Linked DNA regions of Homo sapiens: regions 2 and 3 are each linked to region 1. The links are contacts of gene promoters, found by promoter capture Hi-C in human tissues and cell types (Jung and others, 2019). All regions are on one chromosome and are shown on one strand. The core of a region is centred on a gene start or on the middle of the fragment in contact, and the rest is flanking DNA. Distances in the headings are between cores, read along the strand shown. Region 1 holds the start of REG3G (regenerating family member 3 gamma). Region 2 has its middle 5.5 kb from the start of REG1B. Region 3 has its middle 27 kb from the start of REG1B.

Region 1 (4,978 bases), core at 2,465-4,964:
ACTATCCTGACACCTCCATGCTGTAAGATGTAAGAAGTTCAAGGCACAGGGCCACTGCATTGTAGTTCTCTTTAGCAGTCCCCTCTTTAGCAGAGATCTCTCAGATCAACTGCTAAGCATGTGTGTAATCATCTTCGAAGACCAGTCCATTTGATGCTTCATATGACTCCAGTTCCAGCCATTATATGCAACTGCATGATTTCCAAGGGAGAACCACCCAGACAATCCTAATCACCTCACAGAACCATGAGAAGTAATAACAAACTGTTTTATGCCACTAACCTTGGGATAGTTTTCTGTGTACCAATAGGAAATCAGAAGAGTAGATAATGGAGAAATCATCAGTAAAGTTTGAAGGGGAGAGTAATGATAAATTCATATTCATAACTGATCATTTTGAATAGGTAGGGACATAGAGTCAGGTAATAGAAGATAAACACCCATGTCTTCTGCTCCCACCATACATTCAAGTTTATCTGGAATTTGAGGACTGCTGGACAAAATTGAGTGAAGTTCATTCTCCTGTGTACAATTGGTATTATGGAGATTCAAAACGATCTACCAAGAGGAAGAGAGAAAGGGCCAAGCCCTTGACGATTAAAGTACCAGTTTCCAATTCTGATGGCCAGCTATTAAGATAGCCTCCAGGCACACCTCCGGCATTCATGGTTGGGCAAAATCATCTGAAAACACAGTACACTGTGGAGTATCAGCTGTTTACTTTCAAGATGGTATTGCCACCAGGGCAGTGCTTGCTGCCTATGCTGAGGCAACATGAGAGAGTACCGTACTGCATACTGCTAGCCCAGTAAAAGACCAGTATTCAAAATCTGATATAAGCCTTCTAGGGAATGCATATCACTTTCCCACCATGATACGGTAGAAAAATTATAAGTAGAACTATCATAAATCACAGACCATCTGTGTAGGGAAAAGTAACCTCTTCAGGATATTGAATCTGTCTCTCTAAAACATGATATATTTCTTCGTATATTAAAGTCTTCTTTAAAGTTTAAAAAGTTTTACATGGTCTTGACTATTTTTGTCGGATATATTTCTAGATCCTTTATATTTTTCTTCCTATTAAAAACAGTATCTTTCTTAAAAATACCCTTTCTAACTCTATTGTTGGAATACAAATGTTCATTTGGGATTTATATGTTGATCTCACATTCTTCTTGTTTACTAAATTTATCCATTAATTCTAACAACTAATTTGAAGAGTCTTCTGGGTTTTCTATGGAGACAGCATGTCATATGCAAATAGTGACAACTTAATTTACTTTTTCCCTGTTTAAATTTTTTTTTCTTTTCTAAGTGTACTTTCTATCACACGATATTGTTAAATAGAATCAATGAGGGTGGTACATTTGTATATTTCTGATTTTTTAAGGAAGTCTTGTCAGTAGTTTACTTTTGAGTCTCTATAGATTTCTTTACTGTGTTAAAGCTATTCCTGTCTAACTCTGGTTTTTAAGACTTTTTATCAGTTACTAATAGGTTTTGAATTTCACTTAACAATTTTGTTCTTTTAAAATGACTATATATTTTTTTCCCTTTTAACTTCTGAACTTGGAAATTGCATTAATAGTTCATCATAATAAACTATCATTACATTTCCAAGATTAACTCTTCTTTCTCTTCATTTATTATATAAAACAATGAATTCAATTTGTTTTGTGTTTTGTTCAGGAACTTTGCATCTGTGTTCTTGAGTCAGATTGTCCTTCAAATTTCTTTCTCACGATGGCCCTGAATTTTTCTTTTTCTCAAAATTTTCCACCAATATTTTAGATAAAAACCCAAAGACAATAGTGTTATGAATCATTATGTACCTACCACCAAGCAACAACTCTCATGACCTCAAGTCCTCTCTTGTTTTATCTGTCTCTCTCTTTCTTTATCTCTATCATGCTTGATTATTTTGAAGTAAATTCTGAATAACCATTTCATCTGTAAATATTGTGTTATGTATCTTAAATGATAAGGATACTTTAAATAATATTATTTCAATATTATAATTACATCTGAACATGATATAGTCCTTTAACATTATCAAATGCTCACTTTTACCCAATTGTTTTATAATTATATTTTTTATTTAATTTGTTCAAATCAAGATCCAAACATGGTTCACACATTTTATTTGATTGATATATTTTTCACATGTTAAGAGTGAGATGTTGTTTTATTTCCTTAAATTCACTTGCTGGGGAAATGTACTTATTTGTCCTGTAGAATTTCCCACCTTCTAAATTTTGCTGATGGTATTCCTGTGTTGTAATATAATACCATCCCCATGTCCTATATTTTCTGGAAATTGCCAGCTAGATGTTAACCAGAGATCTCAAACTGTTTTGATCTCAGGACCCTTTAACACTCTTAAAAAATATTGAGGACACTCGAAAAAAAATTTTGTTCATGTGAGCTATTGATATTTATAATAATATATAGTAAAAGAGAAAAGTTAAAAATATTCATTTACTAACTCACTTTGAACTTTTTTGAAAACATGTTAACAAAAGACCCATATGTCAGTAAGTGAAGTTTGTCTTGGTTTATTTTTCAAGTAAAAATGGTGTTCCATGAAATAGTGAACTAAAACTCAGTGTTACAAATTATTTCCCTCAAGACAACCATTATACTTTAGCATGTCAGCTTCCCATTTAGTCATACAGAATATTCCCTCTAGATGTATTCAAGGGTTGAGATTTACTGAAGCCAATTCACTACCCTGATTCATCAAGTTCAAGGGCATTTTCAAGTAAAAATGGCTTTATTTTGTTTCTTGCAAGTGCGTGGATATGAGCAATGCAATTTGGTGCCACTGCCTTGATTGATGTTAAGGCACCAGAACTTCTATCCACCATTTATTTTGCCTCATCAGTGCAAATGTCAACATAGCGAAAATGACGAATAACACTTTAGTATAATTATGAAAATTATAACTGCACAACCACTCCAAACAGGCCCTGAAGACCCCCATTGGTGTGTAGATCACAATCTAAGAACGCTACTCTGAGATATCAAACTGTCAGCGCAGAACTACAATAAACCAAGGAACTATCTCTTGGTCTTCTCACACAAAGGTAGCTGGAAGGCAAATCTATTTAACTGCTGTTCCATAAGACCCTGGCTTGCCTAATGACTCACAAGATTATTTCAAGCTTCTTTTACATCTTGCTGTGAAGTTGAAGTAGCAACACTGAACCAGTGCTGCTGCTTCTGGTTTCTATTGTTTCTTTATTTCGACTAATACATTGTCTTTGCCAACACATCTAATTTTAATGCCCACCCAATTTTTATTTATTAATTTATTTTAAATGTTACTAGATAAGGTATAAAGGAATTCATATGTATGCCTATAGAAGTGAGCTCCTGGCACGTTGATCAAAAACAAACTTTTGACATTTCTCATAACTATGTAATATCATAATATTTTCTAAACTATATAATACCAGGCTCACAAGACTGCCTTTATTCCCTTAAGTTTCTCAGAAGAAGATATCTGGAAGAGGGTGGGAAAAGTGCAAACTTCAACTGTTTGTGGGGAAAGTGCCGGCCTGCTACAGAGAAAAAGGCAACATCTGTAACAATTCCCAGCCTTTGCCAGGAAGAGTCTCCTCCCCTTGGCATAATCTTTTTGAACCAATGCCAAGCCCTCTCCATGACCCCTGTCCCGCCTACATATTGCCGTTATTCACTCCAGTGACCATCCCTGAGATCTTTTTATAAAAAACCCAGTCTTTGCTGACCAGACAAAGCATACCAGATCTCACCAGAGAGGTAAGTGGGAGCTGAGAGAAGATGAGACCTGTGGAAGGGCAACCTCACATAATACAGGAGAACGCATGGGAGGGTCCCTTCCTCAGGGAGCACAGGAGCTCTGAGACTCAGCAAGGCTGTACTGGGAGGTCTCAGGGATGGGTGAGTACACAGATTCACAGCTCATTCAGAACTGTAGAAGATGATGAATGTGACCAAGATCACTTCAGTCCTAGGGGACTACAGAAGGAAAAAGACAAGAGGCAGTAGGATATCTGTGTGTCCTCCCGCTGACCACACTTCCTTTAGTGACCCGATTGCCTCCTCAAGTCGCAGACACTATGCTGCCTCCCATGGCCCTGCCCAGTGTGTCCTGGATGCTGCTTTCCTGCCTCATTCTCCTGTGTCAGGTTCAAGGTGAGATTTCTCTGCCTCTAGCACTGGGTTCCCTATGAATCCTCAGAGCCAAGAAAAGGAGGAAGGCTCCTGTGTGTCACGTGAGGTAATGACGTGGTGTCTAATGAAACTGCCTGCAGTTCCTGCATCATCACTCCTTCCTTCATGTTAACTTGCAGTGGGAGGCTCCACTGTGGTCCACTAACAATGGAATGAGATGGCTTCCATTTAGTCAGTGGACTCTAATATACACTGGTGGGAAAGTGTGGAGGGTCAGCAATGAGATGTGGGGAGGGACAATGATTGGAGGACCCAATATAGAGATAGCCCACAGTGAAGAGAGTGTTGAATGGTTGAATAAGGGGAAAGGGTAATAACAGACTAGATGGTGGCCCATTTAGTAGGGCTATTTTGAGATAAAGAACTTCTGAAAACACAAGGGAAGATGAAGAGCTGTCAGGAATGTGGTCTTCCTCCCCAAGGGCAGACCTAGATATTCCCCAAGGTCATCTCCCACCCACCCCCTACTCTTCATTTTACTCTCTCCCTTTTCTTCCACCCCAGGTGAAGAAACCCAGAAGGAACTGCCCTCTCCACGGATCAGCTGTCCCAAAGGCTCCAAGGCCTATGGCTCCCCCTGCTATGCCTTGTTTTTGTCACCAAAATCCTGGATGGATGCAGATGTGAGTGGTTAGATGTGGGGTTGGAGGTGATAGGGGAAAGTCCATGCAGGTCTCAGGGGGAGGAGGGTCTCCTTCAGGAGAGTTCCTTGGGAATGAGGATGAACACGCTTATCTTTCACACAGTCCTCCTCCCA
Region 2 (4,978 bases), core at 932-3,431, 56 kb after region 1:
TTCTGCATCCATTGAGATAGTCATGTGGTTTTTGTCATTGATTCTGTTTATGTGTTGGATTACATTTATTGATCTGTGTATATTGAACCAAGCTTGCATCCCAGGGATGAAGCTGACTTGATCATGGTGGATAAGCTTTTTGATGTGCTGTTGGATTCAGTTTGCCAGTATTTTATTGAAGATTTTTGCATCGATGTTCATTAGGGATATTGGCCTGAAATTTTCTTCATTTTGTTGTGTCTCTGCCAGGTTTTGGTATCAGGATGAGGCTGGACTCATAAAATGAGTTAGAGAGTAGCCTCTCTTTTTCTATTGTTTGGAATAATTTCAGAAGGAATGGTATCAGCTCCTCTTTATACCTCTGGTAGAATTCAGCTATGAATCCATCTGGTCCTGGGATTTTTTTTGGTTGGTAGGCTATTAATTACTGCCTCAATTTCAGAATTTGTTATTGGTCTATTCAGGGATTTGACTTCTTTTTGGTTTAGTCTTGGAAGGGTGTATATGTCCAGGAATTTATCCATTTCTTCTAGATTTTCTAGTTTATTTGTGTGGAGGTGTTTGTAATATTCTCTGATGGTAGTTTGTATTTCTGTGGGATCAGTGGTGATCTCCTCTTTATCATTTTTTATTGTGTCTATTTGATTCTTCTCTCTTTTCTTCTTTACTAGTCTGGCTAGAGGTCTATCGATTTTGTTAATCTTTTCAAAAAAACCAGCTGGATTCATTGATTTTTTGAAGGGATTTTTGTGTCTCTATCTCCTTCAGTTCTGCTCTGATCTCAGTTATTTCTTGTCTTCTGCTAGCTTTTGAATTTGTTTGCTCGTGCTTCTCTAGTGCTTTTAATTGTGATGCTAGGGTGTCAATTTTAGATCTTTCTCGCTTTCTCCTGTTGGCATTTAGTGCTGTAAATTTTTCTGTAAACATTGCTTTAGCTGTGTCCCAGAGATTCTGATACATTGTGTCTTTCTTCTCATTGGTTTCAAAGAACTTATTTATTTCTGCCTTAGTTTCATTATATACCCAGTAGTCATTCAGGATCAGGTTGTTCAGTTTCCATGCAGTTGTGCAGTTTTGAGTGAGTTTCTTAATCATGAGTTCTAATTTGATTGCACTGTGGTCTGAGAGGCTCTTATGATTTCCATTCTTTTGCATTTGCTGAGCAGTGTTTTCCTTCCAATTATGTGGTCAATTTTAGAATAAGTGTGATGTGGTGCTGAGAAGAATGTATATTCTGTTGATTTGGGGTGGAGAGTTCTCTAGATGTCTATTAGGTCCACTTGGTCCAGAGCTGAGTTCAAGTCCTGAATATCCTTGTTAATATTCTGTCTCGTTGATCTGTCTGATATTGACAGTGGGGTGTTGAAATCTCCCACTATTATTGTGTGGGAGTCTAAGTCTCTTTGTAGGTCTCTAAGAACTTGCTCAATGAATCTGGGTGCTCCTGTATTGGGTGCATATATATTTAGGATAGTTAGCTCTTCTTGGCGCATTGATCCCTTTACCATTATGTAATGCTCTTCTTTGTCTTTTTTTATCTTTGTTGGTTTAGAGTCTGTTTTATCAGAGATGAGAATTGCAACCCCTGCTTTTTTTTTTTTATTTTGGGCTTTCCATTTGCTTGGTAAGTATTCCTCCATCCCTTCATTTTGAGCCTGTGTGTGTCTTTGCACATGAGATGGGTCTCCTGAATACAGCACACAGATGGGTCTTGACTCTATCCAGTTTGCCAGTCTGTGTCTTTTAATTGGGGCATTTAGCCCATTTTCATTTAAAGCTAACATTGTTATGTGTGAATTTGATCCAGTCATTATGATGCTAGCTGGTTATTTTGCCCATTAGTTGATGTGGTTTCTTCATAGTGTCGATTGTCTTTACATTTTGGTATGTTTTCGCAGTGGCTGGTACCAGTTTTCCTTTTCATATTTAGTGCTTCCTTCAGGAGCTCTTGTAAGGCAGGCCTGGTGGTGACAAAATCCCTCAGCATTTGCTTGTCTGTAAAGGACTTTATTTCTCCTTTGCTTATGAAGCTTAGTTTGACTGGATATGAAATTCTGGGTTGAAAATTCTTTTCTTTAAGAAAGTTGCATACTGGCCCCCACTGTCTTCTGGCTCACAGGATTTCTGCAGAGAGATCCTCTGTTAGTCTGATTGGTGTCCCTTTGTGGGTAACCTGGCCTTTCTTTCTGGCTGCCCTTAACATTTTTTCCTTCATTTCAACCTTGATGAATCCAACAATTATGTGTCTTGGGGCTGCTTTTCTCAAGGAGTATCTTTGCCGTCTTCTCTGTATTTCCTGAATTTGAATGTTGGCCTCTCTTACTAGGCTGGGGCAGTTCTCCTGGATAATATCCTGAAGTATGTTTTCCAATTTGGATCCATTCTCCCTGTCACTTTCAGGTACACCAATCAAACGTAGGTTTGGTCTTTTCACATAGTCCCATATTTCTTGGGGGCTTTGTTCTTTCCTTTTCATTCTTTGTTCTCTAATCTTGTCTTCACTCTTGACTTCATTAAGTTGATCTTCAATCTCTGATATCCTTTCTTCTGCTTGATTGATTCAGCTATTGATACTTGCGTACGCTTCATGAAGTTCTCGTGCTGTGTTTTTCAGCTCCATCAGATCATTTATGTTCTTCTCTAACTAGTTATTCTAGTTACCAGTTCCTGTAACCTTTTATCAAGATTCTTAGCTTTCTTGCATTGGGTTAGAACATGCTCTTTCAGCTCAGAGGGGTTTGTTATTACCCACCTTCTGAAGCCTACTTCTGTCAATTCATCAAACTCATTGTCTATCCAGTTTTGTTTCCTTGCTGATGAGGAGTTGTGATCCTTTGGAGGAGAAGAGGCTTTCTGGTTTTTGGAATTTTCATCCTTTTTGCGCTTGTTTTTTTCTCATCTTCATGGATTTATCTATCTTTGGTCTTTAATGTTGGTGACCTTCGGATGGTGATTTTCCTGGGTGTCCTTTTAGTTGATATTGATGCTATTGCTTTCTGTTTGTTAGTTTTCCTTCTAAGAGTCAGGCCCCTCTTCTGCAGGTCTGCTGGAGTTTGTTGGAGGTCCACTCCGGACCCTGTTTGCCTGTGTCTCACCAGCGGAGGCTGCAGAACAGCAAATATTGCTGCCTGCTTCTTCCTCTGGAATCTTTGTCCCAGAGAGGCACTGGCCAGATGCCAGCTGGAGCTCTCCTGTATGAGGTGTCTGTCAACTCCTGCTGGGAGGTATCTCCCAGTCATCAGGCACTGGAGTAAGGGACCCACTTGAGAAGGCAATCTGTCCTTTAGCAGAGCTTGCGTGCTGTGCGAGGAGACCCGCTGCTCTCTTCAGAGCCAGCAGACAGGAAAGGTTAAGTCTGCTGAAGCTTGGCCCACAGCTGCCCCTTCCCCCAGGTGCTCTGTCCCAGGGAGATGGGAGTTTATCTATAAGCCCCTGACTGAGGCTGCTGCCTTTCTTTCAGAGATGTCCTCCCCAGAGAGGAGGAATCCGGAGGGGCAGTCTGGTTATAGCGGCTTTGTCACACTGCAGTGGGTTCCACCTGTTTCAGGTATTTTGAGACATCTTCCTGAAGAATTAACTACTTTATTATTATAAAATACTCCTTTTCTTCTCAAGTAACATTTTTGCTTTAAAGTCAAATATGTCTGATATTAGTATCATTGCAGACAAAACCAGTCCCCCAAAAGATGGAGTCTTTCCCTATTTGGTGTCACAAAGCCAATACATGAAACAGAAAGTGAGTGTCAAGCACTGCAGGATTTATTTGATGGCCATGGAATTGAGAAGCAGGAACATGACTCACAAATTGGCTTCTCTGCTAGTGAGGGGTAAAGTGGTTAAAATATAGGGTTTCTCCAATGAAAGGACTGGGCATTAAAAACAAAGGGAGGAATATTCATGTCTTTTCTGGAAATAGGTTGTGAACTTCCTAGGAACCAGAGTGTGCTTCCTTTTTGTACCTTTATTGCTTCTTCTGGCCATTGTCATGGTGATTGTCAGCTGTCATTGTGCTGGTAGGAGTGTCATTTAGCATGGAAATGAGATTATAATGAACCAGATGTCTTTCTGAGGTCCTTTGATGGTGATCTTGATTCTAACCAGTATCAGCTGGACTAGTTATAAAGGAAACTTTTTACCACAGGCATTCTGTTTCTTAAAGATAAGCAGAGTTCAGACAGGGTAGAAATTCAGCAATCTCATATAGGCATTACACTGGGTAACAGTACAGAAACCAGTGTTCTTATGGTTTCTGTTTGCAAGATATGTCTATTTCCTTCCTTTTATTTTCAAGCTATTTGTGTCTTAATTTAACTCATGTCTCTCATACATAGCATACAGTTGAATCTTGTTTTCATTGTTGTTACTTTAATCCAGGATGACAATTTGTTTCCTTTGTTATCAAATCACATTTAACTCTATTATTGATATGATTGATGTTATGGGCTGAACTGTGTCCCTGCACAATTAATTTGTGAAAGTCCTAAGAGTAATATTTCAGAATTTAACTTTATTGAGAGTTAGGATATTTAAAGAGATGATTAAGTATGCCTGTATATTTAATTTACATAATTGATCATTCACTTATTCATTCATCCAAGGAGTAGCATTTAACAAACTTTGCAGGCTGGCCTCCAAAAATGTACCACTAATGCACTCAGGACCGCAGACCTGACAATTCTCCTTAAGTTATCATTTCAGTCATGACTTCAAATTGCATAACCAAGAACAGATGTGTTCTCCTCAGACCCCAACTATGCGAATTCTTCTGGAATATTAAATACTCCAGTCAGACTGGATCAACAATTTAATTATTTGTGTAATTCACACTAGGTTCATGCTAACATGTGTTGTGGATGAAATCTTAATCTTTTTATCTTGTCATAAACAAGGCCACCACATGTTCATAAGCCTGACATACATAAAATGTGAGTGGGGTTTTAACAAGTGGATGGGCCATGGCAAGCTCTGGAGTGTGACA
Region 3 (4,978 bases), core at 1,418-3,917, 36 kb after region 1:
ATGTGCTGAGAGATTTTATTTTAAATTGATGTTAAATATGTTATTTATAGTAAATAAGTAATTTTTACACATAATTATTTATGAGGATTTAATTACAAGAGTCCCAAACTGGAAACTACCCAAATGTCTTTCACTGGGTGGATGATTAAACAAACTGTGGTCCAGCCATACTATCCAGCAATAAAAAAGCAACACACTATGAATGGACACAGTAATTTGAATGAAGCTCAAAGGAAATTATGCAAGCAAAAACAGCTAATAATATATGTATATAGCAAATTCCACCTATAAAAACTCCATGAAATAATCTAATTATGGGGATCTATAGAAAATTGGTGATAGCAAAGGTTTGGGGATGAAGAAGGGATGGGTATAAAGGGATATATATCTTGCTATAAAGGGATAGCAAGAGAGAGTCTTATGCAGTTGTATTTTTTTATATTGTGTTGTGATTGTGGTGGTGGTTACACAAAGATACACATCTAATAAAATTTCATGGGGCCACACATACACATACACACACCTGAGTGAATGTATAAAGGATAATATCTGAATAAAATTTATGGATTTTACTAAATTGTTTTCTCTGGTTTTGATACTGCCTGGGATCTTTTGCATATTACTTTGAATGTTCCTACGGATCTATAATTATTTCAAATTTAAAAGTTGAGAAAATAACCCTCCCTTGAATCCATTATCCTCCCCAAATAATTTACATTTAGTTCTTCCCCTTCTCTTTCAAACTTTGAAAAAGTGTTACCTGTATGAATCATGTCCAATTTCACATCTCCGTTTGACTCATTACATTGAAATTTTACTTCTGCTCTCAGCATTCTTCTGAATTTGCTATCATTAAGGATATCAATGAATCAACGTTTGTCAAGTTACCGTTCCACCTCCCATCGAACCAGACTTGCCTCTATGGTATTGTTGATTACCTTTTCTTTCCTGAGGCTCTCTAACTTCCACGACACCACACTTTTCTGGATCTCTTCACATTTTTGAGTCTCTGATTCTTGCATAAAAACCTATTTTCTACCTGATATTTAAACATTTGTGTATTAGTTGAGGTGCCAAAATGCAGACACAAAACATTAAACAAGATATAAGTTTGTTTTCCATTCACATAAGATTTTGGACTCAGGCTCTTTTCATATTGTTTTTGAGCCATCTCTAATTGCTCTCATCTGTTTCTCTGAAGCAGGGACACAGCCTTCTCTGTATTCCAGCCAGTGAGAGGACCAAGTGTCCTCCAAAGTGAATCAGCTTATCTCTAAATTAGAAATGACCCAACAGCTACACAAATCACCTCCCATCTAATGCCAGTGGCTAAACTTGGTCATAAGGCCATGGAGCTTCAAGCTTGATTACCATTGAAGAGAGGGATAATGGATTTGAAAGAGACACAAGCAGTCTTACATTGGTAGTATTCATCAGGGTTCCATTCTTAATTGGTGTATATTTTTTTCTTAACTTACACATTCTCAAATAGTGATTTCATCTCTTTTCCTGGTTTTCATTACCTATTTTTATTTCCAGTTGTGGATCTTTGTTTCATCCCTTTCCCTAGCCCTCTGGACTTCTACAGGCATCTTAACTTGTCTTTCTATCCCTAGAATCTGGAACACTGATTATCAATGGAGAGCAATTTTGTCCTCTGGGGACACCTGGCAATGTCTAGAGAGCTTTTTGAATGTCACAACTGAGGCAGAGCAGGGGAAATTGTGCTAGCTATTGGCATCTAGTGGGTAGAGACCCAGGTTGTTGCTAAACAAAATATGATGCACAAGATATCACTCCACAACAAATGCTTATTTTGTCCAAAATGTCAGTAATGCTGCTGTTGAGAAACCCTGACATAAAGCAATGCCAGTTTTCTAGTAAAATGTAGTACATTTTGAGAGGATGAATGATTTAGTAAAATCTGTATAAAAGGTAATCTTCACACAGAAGTAGTAAACCTGAGGCTATCATATGTTGTCACTCCTGATCCACAAGTCAACAATAATAATGATCATGAGTTATTGAGCTTTATATACCTCATCCCATTTTAAATGAACAACAATCCTGTGGGATATTATAACATTTTATGGGTGAGTAAACTAAGGCTCAGAAAATTTGATAACTTGCCTAATATCACAGAGCTAGAATACATACCCCAGATTTTTCTGGCTGTTATAGCACCCCTTAGCCTCTGGGATTCATCTTATTTTCACTTCACACTCAACTCTTTAACCTTGAATGCTTGAACAGTTCAAATATAAATTTGATCTCTTATTCTTCCTATGCTGGTGCCTACCCCAGGCAAGGGCAAGTTCCTACCTCAACATTTGTGTTTCTCTCCTTGAGGAAGCTGCAGTATCATTCTAGCCTAAATTTTTTAGAAGAGGGAAAATTAAGAAAAGTATTACTTACAGATCTGACTCTAGTAAAGCTTTGAACGGGATAGGAATTCCTGAAGACACAGGTAACCCCTCCCCAGCTCAGTCCCATTAGGAAACCAAAACAGCCTGCTCTTCCTGCTTCTAAAAATTTTCCCTTCTTTAGGCCAGTACATGGACAGTACTTGTGAATTAAATTTTCTTAACAATAGTCTTGCTGTTCATATTTTATTTACTCAAGTTCATATTCTGCTCCTCAAGAGCTGTTGGAAAAGTTCTTCCATTTGAAGGATAGGAAGAATTTTCTTTGAGGGATAAGTCAAGGACCAATGTGGCATAAATAGAGAAAGTATAATCATCTTTCCTTGGATATACACCATCCTGAGAGGAGAGAGAGAAAGAGACACACTCGTTTCCTTAGTGCTCTTCTTTTGCCTTCTGAATATTATCAATGATTCACTGAAGAGGCTGAATGGAAGAAGAGAAAGTATTCTATAGGAGAACACGCTAAGGATTTATAAGTCATAGTCACCACAGAGAAAAGAAGTTTTGTTCACTAGCAATTTTAACTATAGTAATTGCCATGTACTAGAAAAGAGCAGTGAAGATTGATGCTGGGAATTCCTATAACATTGAAAGCTGGCACACACAAAAATCATCCTACATTTTTAAGCCCATCCCGTTTTACCTTTCATCTTGTCCCCCTGTAGTTTCTAAAATTATAAACTACCTAAAATGCAGTCAACCAGCAACTCCAGCACACCTATAATATCTAGTACCCCAGAAATAATACAAAAAATCCTGAATGTTGGCTTTGAAAGGGATGCTGACTGTCCCAACCCTTTTATAGTCCTTGATCCTCAGAGTTTTGTTCTGAATAGGAGTAGAATGCAAGGAGTTAGTTACAGGTAAAGACAGATAATGTCAGGTGTCTTTCTGGTAATAATTAAAGAAATCAATTGGAATTACTCTATTTCTAATATTTTTAAACTTTATTGATAAAACCAGAAAATATATAGTTTCAAGTCTTTGGTAACTATGATTAGCACCCTTTGAGATGGCCTCCAACAATCTCTGCATCTTGGTTTGACATCCTTTGTCTAATCCCATCCCCTTGCATGTGAGATAAACATAATGACTTGCTTCTCACCAATAGTATATGACGGAAGTGATGTGATGCCACATCCATGATTGGGTAATAAAAGGCCAGGATTTCTGCCTTGCTTTTACTGCTTTCTCTCTTGTTGACACTCTCTCTTGCTCACCCAGTTACCCATTCTGATGAAGAAAGCTAAAGTATTGTGAGCTGCCTATACGGAGAGAAACTTGGAGGGGCCATGTGACAAGGAACTGAGGGAAGCCTTCAGCCAGCAACCAGCAAGGAGCTGAGGCCCTCAGTCCAACAGCCCAGGAGGAAATGAATCCTTCCAATAACCATGTCACTGAGTTTGAAATTGAACCTTTCTCCTACCAAACCTTCAGCGGAGACTACAGCCATGGATGATGCTTTGTTCACCACCTTGTGTGAAACTGATGCTGAGAGCCCAGCTAAGCTATGCCCAGATTTCTGACCTATAAAAACTGTGATAATATGTGGTTGCTTTCAAGCCACTATATTTTGGGTAGTTTCTTGTGTAGCAGAGGATAACTATTAGAGTAGTTTTCTAGTGCAATAAAAGGACAGACACAAATTTACCTTTGAGGCAAATATTTTTCTTTTTTTTTCCTAGGAAAAGCACCAAATTGGATGGATTAGCTGTGCAGATAAAAGCAGCTAGTAATTGTTGGACTTGAATTTAAATGTTTTAAACTGGAACTTGGTGTTCAGTTTGGTCATATAAACTGAGTGTATGTTGGGCAAAAATTTGTCTCTGGAATTTGTTTTCTTTTTAATGGAGAGATATTTCTGTGTATGAACGGTTGGACTTGATGGCCTTATTCCCATTCATTATTTCTTGTCCATATATGAAGGTGTGTGGGGAGGGGTGTTGGGGGGTGAGAGAGACAGAGACAAGGAAAAAGTAAGAAAAGACAGAGACAGATAGGCACAGAAAGAGCTCTTGTTCCATAAATTTATCCAAGAATGTCAAGAGCTAACCTTCACTTTAAGCTAGAAGTAAAAAATGAATGGCTTAGGCCTGGCCAAGTACAGTTCAAATTAGAAAATGGAAACCTCATGCATGGAGTCATTTGAAAATGAATAATACTTAATGCTGTATTTTCTCTATTATTCCACTGTGAGTCTCCTTAAGATGGGAATGGGGCATACACTGTCAACTGTCCTAGGTTAGAGCAGGACCTAAGAAGGGAAATAGGTGCTAAAGAACAGCCTACAAGCTCAAGAAACAAGAATGTCTCTCTTCTAGAACTCCCACTGTTTGCACTTAAATTCTGAGAAAGAATGGCATGGTCTAGGCCTTGCTACTCCAAATTTGGGCTTCAGCATCACCTAGGAACTTGTTAGAATGCAAAATCTTAGGCCCCACTTCCAACCAATTGAATCACAATGTGCATTTTAACAAGATCCCCAGGTCATTTAAATGCACATTAAAGTCTGAGACATACTGTTCTAGAGTACTAACACTTCGGCAAGATAA

What was found. Contacts are between HindIII fragments. The study calls those that stand out against the background at their distance.
Region 2: a fragment that was not itself captured here is called in contact with the fragment with the promoter of REG3G in region 1 in 2 of the 25 tissues and cell types used here (mesenchymal stem cells and ovary).
Region 3: a contact is called between a fragment that was not itself captured here and the fragment with the promoter of REG3G in region 1, in 2 of the 25 tissues and cell types used here (bladder and ovary).

The regions. Positions count from the first base shown.
Region 1 is chr2:79,021,988-79,026,965 of GRCh38, forward strand. REG3G (regenerating family member 3 gamma) reads left to right here and starts at 3,715. Exons shown (of 6, transcript NM_001008387.3): 1 at 3,715-3,786; 2 at 3,996-4,182; 3 at 4,726-4,844. The coding sequence starts at 4,107. The HindIII fragment of the contact is 5,677 bases long and covers 1,318-4,978 here.
Region 2 is chr2:79,079,984-79,084,961 of GRCh38, forward strand. No RefSeq gene overlaps it. Among named protein-coding and RNA genes, the nearest start is that of REG1B, 5.5 kb to the right of the region's middle. The HindIII fragment of the contact is 4,779 bases long and covers 1-4,571 here.
Region 3 is chr2:79,058,915-79,063,892 of GRCh38, forward strand. No RefSeq gene overlaps it. Among named protein-coding and RNA genes, the nearest start is that of REG1B, 27 kb to the right of the region's middle. The HindIII fragment of the contact is 4,064 bases long and covers 636-4,699 here.